Regions from separate parts of the Homo sapiens genome. Here regions 2 and 3 are each linked to region 1. The links are contacts of gene promoters, found by promoter capture Hi-C in human tissues and cell types (Jung and others, 2019). All regions are on one chromosome and are shown on one strand. Each heading gives the region's core, a stretch centred on a gene start or on the middle of the fragment in contact. The rest is flanking DNA. Distances are from core to core; before and after follow the strand shown.

The links. The method cuts DNA at HindIII sites, captures the fragments that hold promoters and counts their contacts. A contact is called where the count stands out against the background at its distance.
Region 2: a contact is called between a fragment that was not itself captured here and the fragment with the promoter of CD180 in region 1, in 1 of the 25 tissues and cell types used here (dorsolateral prefrontal cortex).
Region 3: a fragment that was not itself captured here is called in contact with the fragment with the promoter of CD180 in region 1 in 1 of the 25 tissues and cell types used here (dorsolateral prefrontal cortex).

What each region holds. Positions count from the first base shown.
Region 1 is chr5:67,194,777-67,198,062 of GRCh38, reverse strand. It overlaps CD180 (CD180 molecule), which reads left to right and starts at 1,264. Exons shown (of 3, transcript NM_005582.3): 1 at 1,264-1,511. The coding sequence starts at 1,422. RefSeq lists an enhancer at 2,291-2,440. The HindIII fragment of the contact is 16,000 bases long and covers 1-3,286 here.
Region 2 is chr5:66,327,626-66,330,618 of GRCh38, reverse strand. No RefSeq gene overlaps it. Among named protein-coding and RNA genes, the nearest start is that of LINC02065, 120 kb to the right of the region's middle. RefSeq lists an enhancer at 740-1,939. The HindIII fragment of the contact is 4,246 bases long and covers 1-2,993 here.
Region 3 is chr5:68,143,555-68,146,432 of GRCh38, reverse strand. No RefSeq gene overlaps it. Among named protein-coding and RNA genes, the nearest start is that of LINC02219, 45 kb to the left of the region's middle. The HindIII fragment of the contact is 9,444 bases long and covers 1-2,878 here.

The sequences.
Region 1 (3,286 bases), core at 15-2,514:
CTCCTTCAGGAGGCAAAGTCCTTTCTTAAACTGTGAAGAGTAGCAGCATAGTCTCTGCAGTGAGATTTTCTGGATCTGAAGCCCTAATCTACCACTCTCTAATTGTGTGGCTTGGAGAGATCATTTAATTTCTCTTAAGCATCAGTTTCTACATCTATAAAATGAGGGAAATAATAATATCTCTCTTATAGAATATATGGAAATATTCGAGGATAGGAAAATGCAGCAAAAAACTGCATTAAACCTGACCCAGTGTCTGACACATAGTAAGGACTCAATAAATGGCAGATACTATAGTCATTTGATTCATCATAGTAATACTGTAGAGGTGGTGGTGGTGGTGGTGGTGGTAGTAGTAGTAGTAGCAGTAGTTAAGTCATTGTGAACTCTGATACTAAGAACTGGGCTCTTGGAAATGGAGTGGGAGAACAGTAACACCAAATATATCCTGTATGCCAGAGGGTTGAAGAACAGACAGAACAGGTAGCTAAATGCAGCCTATTGAGGAATGTTTGAACTTTGGCTTTCTTTAATCATTGCCACATCTTGCTCCATAATAAGGGTAATTGTAATCCTGCTTCAAAGCTATTTCTAAGAAGAAATAGAGCCAAGGCTGGCATCCCTAACTCTACTCTCCTTTAGCCAGGCTGCTCTATCTATGGCAGTGTCCCCTACTTCCCCAGGCCAGGTTAGGAGGGAACAAGAGAGTCCACCCCAACTGCTTTAACAAGCCTGAACCGCCAGGTCAAGAGATGAAGTAATCTTCCCCCTATACGAAGACCAGAGGTGGGGATGGACAAGGTGGCCAAGGCAGCAGCTGAGGCTCAAGGAGCAGATACACTCTCAAGCCTGCTCCCTCCTGCTCCAGTTCCCAGCTCAGCAGGTGCCACTGAAGGGCTCAGTTCTTCAGTCTGCCCCTGCAGAGTGCTCTGCCCTTCCATGTTCTCTGACACCTCTTCTATTCACTCACCTAGGACAACTAAGAAAGTGGCCTCCTTGGTGAGTAGAGCTTCCACAGCCTCTCTCGGGGAAAAGGACCAGAAGCTGTTGGAGTTGGCCAAATGCTTGAAGTTGGCATAAAGTCAATTGGAACCATCACAATGAGAGTCTGTGTGATCAGCCCAAAAGGACTGCACAACTGATTCATGTTCAGTGCCAGGAAATGCAACGGGCCATTCTGGGGTTGGGTCCTCAGTTATTTTTGGCAAAGATGGGTGGTATGCAAAAGGGACTTCCTTTTTTTTTTTTTTTTTTTTTTCCAGCACAGAGCCACAGAATGCTGAGCAGTCAACAGCATTTCTTGTTCCAAGATCACCCTTCTGAGTACCTCTCTGGCTGCCAAATTGCCAGGGCCTTCACAGTTTGATTCCATTTCTCAGCTCCAAGCATTAGGTAAACCCACCAAGCAATCCTAGCCTGTGATGGCGTTTGACGTCAGCTGCTTCTTTTGGGTGGTGCTGTTTTCTGCCGGCTGTAAAGTCATCACCTCCTGGGATCAGATGTGCATTGAGGTGAGTCCAAACTGTTTGTCTTTATGCAGATTAAACTGTCTGAAAATTTTGAGATTTAGCACGCAGTCCAATCTGAGCCTTGGCATCCCAATATCTAGTGTCTTTAAAAAGGAAATAAGGTGTATATATAATTTTTTCATTATTGTGAGAAAGGAGCCAAAGAACTCTGCCAGGGGATCATCTGGTGGCATCTTAATAGGAAGCAAAGAGAATTTTTCTCCTCTTCAAACAATTCCACCCAAATAATCCCAAGTGGGTCATAAGATATTAATAGGGTCTGTGTGCACAAAGCAGACCCCTAAACCTGCCTCAACCTAGGGGAGCTGTTGGTTTAACATCCCCACTCTCACATGGCCTCTATCCCAATGAGTCCTTTGGTCTCCTCTCAGGGTGAGAATTAGTAAAGACAGCGCTGTGCCAGGTTTTCGAGCATTGAAAAGATCACTCTGAATGAGTCTGGCTCTCTCTTGGACTTGGACAGCCTTCCATCTGTTTTACTAACCCATAGGAGGAAAATCTGAGAATAGAGCCAAATTGCACCTTCTGTTTTGGACCATAGCAATATTTATCAACCTGTGGGAAGTTCTTGGAGGGGATAATGAGAGAAAAAGGAGAAGGGCCTCCGTCTCTTGCCATCCTCTAAAATGCTTCAAACTTCCTCCCACTTTCTCTGACCCCACAAGTGATCAATACCACGTGGCCTGTCAGACAAGGGCTGCATACAGGAGGAACCATGAGTCTTGGTGGCTTGGTGAGCTGCTGGTCTGGGTTGAGGTAAAAAGAAGAGTAAGAGCCAGGAATAGCCAGATGTGGAGTTGCCCTGGGGCAGGACTAGAAGGAGATCAGAGGATCAGGAAGAGCAGAGCAAAGCCAGCACTGGGGTAAGGCTCAGAGCTGGGTGAGCAGAGCCTTGTTGGTCTGGCATTAGGATGGAATCAGCAGCAGGCCAAGAGGAGGCATCATGCCAATGAGAAATGAAGGCTGGGAAGGTGTGTGTTGCTTTGCTTGGGCTGTCATAACAAATGCCACAGACTGGGCCAGGCGTGGTGGCTCACGCCTATAATCCCAGCACTTTGGGAGGCCAAGGTGGGTGTATGCCTTGAGACTGGGAGTTCGAGACCAGTCTGGGCAACATGGCAAAACCCCATCTGTACTAAAAATACAAATATTAGCTGGGCATGGTGGCACATGCCTGTAATCCCAACTACTCGGGAGGCTGAGGCAGGAGACTCACTCAAACCCGGGAGGCAGAGGTTGCAGTGAGCCGTGATTGTGCCACCGCACTCCAGCCTTGGCGACAGAGCAAGACTCTGTCTTAAAACAAACAAACCAAAAATACACCAAAAAACAAAAACAAACCAAAAAAACCCTGAATACCATAGACTAGGTGACTTAAACAAGAGAAATTGATTGTCTCACAGTTCTGGAGGCTGGAATTTTAAGATCAAGGTGTTGGCAGAGTTTGCTGCTTCTGCACCCTCGCTCCCTGGCATGCAGATGGCCATCTTCTCTCTGTGTCCTCTCATGGCCTTTCCTGTGTGCATGAGCACTGGTGTCTTCTTGTTTGTCCAAATGTCCTCATCTTTTAAGGACTCCAGTCAGATTGGATTAGGGCCCACCTATATGACCTCAGCTTCCCTTAATGACCTCTTTAAAGGCCCTGTCTCTAAATACAGTCACATTCTGAGGTCCTGTGGGTTAGGACTTCAACATATGAATTTGGTGGTGGGGGAGAGAAAATTCAGCCCATAACAGAAGGAGAAGAGTAAGACATT
Region 2 (2,993 bases), core at 183-2,682, 870 kb after region 1:
GGAAACTTATAATCATGGTGGAAGGCACTTCTTCACAGGAGAGCAGGAGAGAGAATGAGTGCCCAGTGAAGGGGGCAGCCCCTTATAAAACCATCGATCTTGTGAGAACCCACTCACTATCACAAGAACAGCAGCATGGGGGCAACTGCCCCCATGATTCAATTACCTCCCACTGGGTCCCTCCCATGACATGTGGGGATTATGGGAACTACAATTCAGGATGAGATTTCAGTGAGGACACAGCCAAACCATATCACCCTTCATTGAAATGTTTCACTATAAACTACTTTAGATTGTGACCTTCTTGAGGCTCTGCCTTAATCTTCCTGGATCTTCTTAAGTCTTCTTTGAGTCTCTGACTACTTACAGAGGGGTGGGGCTCAGGAAGAGAAGAGAGATTCCTCAGCAGGAAACTGCAACTCACAGGTCCTATTTCCCTGCCTAGTTCATTGCCTACGAAAAAGTCATTGCTCAGTGCATGCTGATAAATGATTGATGTGAGGATGGATGGATGGATGGATGGATGGATGGATGGATGGATGGAGATCAGGAATGCCAGATCATTATCTACTCTTCTTTAGGACCAAAATTAATTCTATGCTGTGGCCTTGGGCCTTAGCGGGGCCATGATCTTTGAGAAAATGAGAGGTGCAGACTATTCTAAGGAGTAGACAGATCCCTGAAGAGGACAGGCAAGTCTTTTCCAACCTAGTTCCCCTATACTTCTTGGGGAAAGAAGCTTTCCAGGTCAGACTGTTCCCACCTGGGCAAAGTTCCCCAACCTTTGGGCAGCCACAAATGGTCACTAGGCACAGAGCAGGCCAGACTGTGCCAAAAAAATCATTCAAGAAGGCTCAGAAAACTCCTAACTGCCACATGCAGGAAAGCCCAGTGCTATGTTCCTCTTGGCTTACAGAGAGAAGAAAGAGGCCAGGCCATAGCACATGTTGACAAATCAGAAGACATCCAAAGGAGCTCAGAGAAATCTAGAAGTATGTTCTATGATCAACAAGGGGATGAACTGAAGAGATTTAGCCTGAAAAAGAAAACAATGGGGGAAGAGTAAGGTGGGGGCTGAATAGCTCTCTTTGGAATGACAGTATGTTGAAAGTCAATATAATTGTTTAGCTCTAGAGAGGAGAACTATGGCCAAGAGGAGGCATATTTAATTTCATGCAAGGAAGCAGCCTCTAACAATTAACGTCAGCCCACAGTGGGTTGTTGAAGCCTATCACTGTTAAGAGATTCGTTAGTTTCCTGTCAATGCACGAACTGAAACAGAAGCTACAGGATTATCTGTTTGAGCTGTTGTGTGAGGGATTCCTGCAGTGGGAGGAAGGTGGGGCTAGGTGATTCAAGGTATTTTCCATGATTCATTTGTTTAGATGAGGCACCCATGCCATCCTCACCTCACCTCACCCACACCTACTGAGACTCTGAAATCAAGCTTTAATTCAAGGGTTTGACTACCAACTCAATTCCCCACATAGACTTTATGGATCTTAAAACTCCTAAGTTTATTAATGGAAAATTCTGATATCTTCCCCAGGGATGTGTAGATCCAAATGGGAGCCAGCCCCTTTCTTCCTTAAAGGGACACACTTACCAAGGGATGGTAAAAACCTTCACTTACAAAGTCCTCTTCAAACTCTGTCTCTGAGTTTCTCAGTTTTTCTCTCCTTTCTCCACACCCACACCCAGAGTAATTCCCAGCGTGTGCTTTGGAAAGGTTAATCTTGGGTCTCCATACTCTATAGCTCCATCATTGTAGGACAATCAAGTGTCCTTTCAGTTCAGCCCTGGAAAACAACTCACAGTAGTGTCCCTGCTTATTGAATTAGTCAACCTGTCCAAGATCTGAGCTCTTTTACGGAAGTAATCCACAGCCCTTTAATCAGTAACACCAGGAATTATGCTGAGGAATACTCATACCCTTCTATCACCAACCAGGCATCACGCTTCTCATCTTCTCTCAACCTCCATTGTGCTATGCTCTGAGTAGGACACACAACCAGTGCCCACTCCGACCACCACCCAACTGAGTATTGTACCAATGAACCCTTCACCTTCTCCTCAGGAGTCTTAGTCAGTTTTGTGCTGGTTTAACAAAATACCTGGAATTAGGTAACTTATAAAGAACAAACTTATTTCTCATGGTTCTAGAGCCTGGGAAGTCCCAGTTCAAAGGGCCAGCTGGTGAGGGCCCTATCTCTCTTCTAAGATGGTGCCTTGTTGCTGTGTCCTCCTGAGGGGAAGAATGCTGCATCCTCCCATGTGGAAGGCAGAAGGGCAAGAAAGCCAAACACTGCTGCATGAGGCCTCTTTTATAAGGGCTTTAATCCCATTTATGTGGGAGGAGCCCTGCTGGCCTAATCACTTCTTCAAGACCTCATCTCTTAATTCTGTCACATTGGCCATTAAGTTTCAATACCTGAATTTTGGAGGAGACACATTCAAATTACAACTTCAGGTATGTAAGGAAATTGGCAATAACCTAAAATTTTAAAATTTCTCCTTATATACCCACTCTACCTACACTGGATAGAGGAGTACATGCAAATTAGGTGCCAGGCACTGTCCAGAAAGTCCCAAAGTTTACTTTCAAACCAAACCCTGAAATTGACTCTGGGTCACCAACATCATCAAAGCTTGGGGTGAGCACCAAACCTGGCAGGTGCACAATCAGGAATCACAGTGATGACAGTTCCCACACTGAGTGACTCTGAGCACAGACCTGGCAGGTGCAGAAGTGACTCTTCCAACCCCATTTCTTCATCCATCAGTGAGGAGGTTGGTCTTGATGATTTCTGGGACTTTACCATGCCTAAAATGGCACAATTCTGTGATTGAAAGAGGCATTTTCTCCTCAGCCCCTTCTGTTTCAGGTGAAGAAATCTAAGTCCCGGCTGGTTAACTGACTTGGCCAAGCTCATACTGGTCTTTAGAGCCTGGTCTTCTGTCTCCCAGTCCTATCTCCATCGAACCATTCCTCT
Region 3 (2,878 bases), core at 143-2,642, 950 kb before region 1:
GCTCATGCCTGTAATCCGAACACTTTGGGAGGCTGAGGTGGGCAAATCACCTGAGGTCGGGAAGTTTGAGACCAGCCTGACCAACATAGAGAAACCCCTTCTCTACTAAAAATACAAAATTAGCCAGGCATGGTGGTACATGCCTGTAATCCCAGCTACTTGGGAGGCTGAGGCAGGAGAATTGCTTGAACCCAGGAGGCAGAGGTTACAGTGAGCCAAGCTCTCATCATTGCACTCCAGCCTGGGTAACAAGAGTGAGACTTCACCTCAAAAACAAACAAACAAAAACATTTTTTAATTTATTTTGGTATTTTTATTTATTTTTTACACTTAAATCTTTGATTTCTCTTAAACATATTTTTAATGTAACAAGCAAGGCATTGACTGAATGTTTTTTTTCTCAAGTGACTACCCAGTTCTCCTTACACCATTACATAAATAATTTTAATTTTTCTTCGCACTGATTTGTAATGCTACTTTAATCATAATTTGATTCCCTAAAGAATGTGATGTCCAAATTAGGTTTTATAGCTAAGTGTTATGAAACTATTGTGGAACAGATAACCCCAATACTATTTAAACTCATCTGAATAGGAAAAAAAAAAAAACATAACAATAAAAGGATTTTTTTTTTTTTTTTTTGAGGCAGAGTCTTGCTCTTTCACTCAGGCTGGAGTGCAATGGCGCAATCTTGGCTCACTGCAGCCTCCTCCTCCCAGGTCCAAGCGATTCTCCTGCCTCAGCCTCCCAAGTAGCTGAAACTACAGGCGCCCCCCACCATGCCCGGCTAATTTTTCTATTTTTAGTAGAGATGGGGTTTCACTATATCGGCCAGGCTGGTGTCAAAAGCCTGACCTTGTGATCCACCCGCCTTGGCCTCCCAAAGTGATGGTATTACAGGTGTGAGCCAGGGTGCCCGGCCAAAGGATGTTTTTAGGGAGTAGCTCACATGTATTCCTATTTCTCTTTTACAAATTAGCCTATTTGATTTTTTCCCCTTTCTTTGGGAGTCAATTCTAAAAAATGACACATTTTATCCAGATTTTTATTTCTACTTATCTGGGGCTGAGTTTATTATTTTTTGTATTGCCTTTGTAGTGTGATTATTTTTCATTCATTTGTTCTTGAATATATTTTTGCTTGCTTAATTTTGTTCTTTATTTTTATTTTATTTTTTCAACTTTTATTTTTGATTCAGGGGGTGCATGTCCAGGTTTGTTACCTGGATATAGTGTGTAATGCTGAGGTTGGGGTATGAATCATACCGTTACCCAGGTACCAAGCATTGTACCCAGTAGTCAGTTTTTCAACTTTTGTCCCCACCCTGTACCTTTAGTAGTCCCCAGTTTCTATTGTCCCTGTCTACGTCCATGAGTATCCAATGTTTAGCTCTCAGCTTATAAGTGAGAACATGCAGTATTTGGTTTTCTGTTGCTGAGTTAATTCACTCAGGATAATGGCCTGTAGCTGCATCCATGTTGCTGCAAAGAACATGCGTTAGTTCTTTTTTATGACTGCATAGTATTCCGTGGTGTATATGTATCACATTTTCTTTAATCCACCATTGATAGGCACCTAGATTGAGCCACATCTTTGCTATTGTGAATAGTGCTGTGATGAACATATGAGTGCATATGTCTTTTTGGTAGAACAATTTATTTTCCTTTGGATATATACCCAGTAAAGGAATTGCTGTGTCAAATGGTGGTTCTGTTTTCAGTTCTTTGAGAAATCTCCAAACTGCTTTTCAAGTGGATGAACTAAGTTACATTCCCACCAACAGTGTATAAACATTCCCTTTTCTCCACAGACTCACCAACATCTGCTGTTTCTTGACTTTTTATTAAGTCATTCTGAATGGTGTGAGATGGTATCTCATTGTGGTTTTGATTTGCATTTCTCTGATGATTAGTGATGTTGAGCATTTTTTCATATGTTTGTTAGCTGCTTCTATGTCTTCTTCTTCTTCTTTTTGTTTTAGACAGAGTCTCGCTCTGTCGCCCAGGCTGGAGTGCAATGGCACAATCTTGGCTCACTGCAACCTCCACTTCCCTGGTTCAAGCAATTCTCCTCCCTCAGCCTTCCAAGTAGCTGGGACTACAGGCACTTGCCACCATACCTGGCTAATTTTTGTGTTTTTAGTAGAGACAGGGTTTCACCATCGTGGCCAGGCTGGTCTCAAACTCCTGACCTCAGGTGATCTACCTGCCTTGGCCTCCCAAAGTGCTGGGATTACAGGTGTGAGCCACTGCACCTGGCCGTTTCTATGTCTTCCTTTGAGAAGTGTCTGTTCATGTCGTTTGCCCATTTTATTTATTTATTTTTTATTTCCTATTATTATACTTTAAGTTCTGGGGTACATGTGCAGAACGTGCAGGTTTGTTACATAGGTATACATGTGCCATGGTGGTTTGCTGCACGCATCAATCTGTCACCTATGTTAGGTATTTCTCCTAATGCTATGCCTCCCCTAGCCCCCCACCCCCCGACAGGCCCGGGTGTGTGATGTTCCCTTCCCTGTATGCATGTGTTCTCATTGTTCAACTCCCACTTATGAGTGAGAACATGCGGTGTTTGGTTTTCTGTTCTTGTGTTAGTTTGCTGAGAATGATGGTTTCCAGCTTCATCCATGTCCCTGCAAAGGACATGAACTAATTCTTTTTTATGGCTGCATAGTATTCCATGGTGTATATGTGCCACATTTTCTTTATCCAGTCTATCATTGATGGGCATTTGGGTTAGTTCCAAGTCTTTGCTATTGTGAATAGTGTGGCAATAAACATAGGTGTGCATGTGTCTTTATAGCAGACATTTGCCCATTTTTTAATGGGGTTATTCATTTTTTGCTTATTCAATTGTTTAAGTTCCTTATAGATTC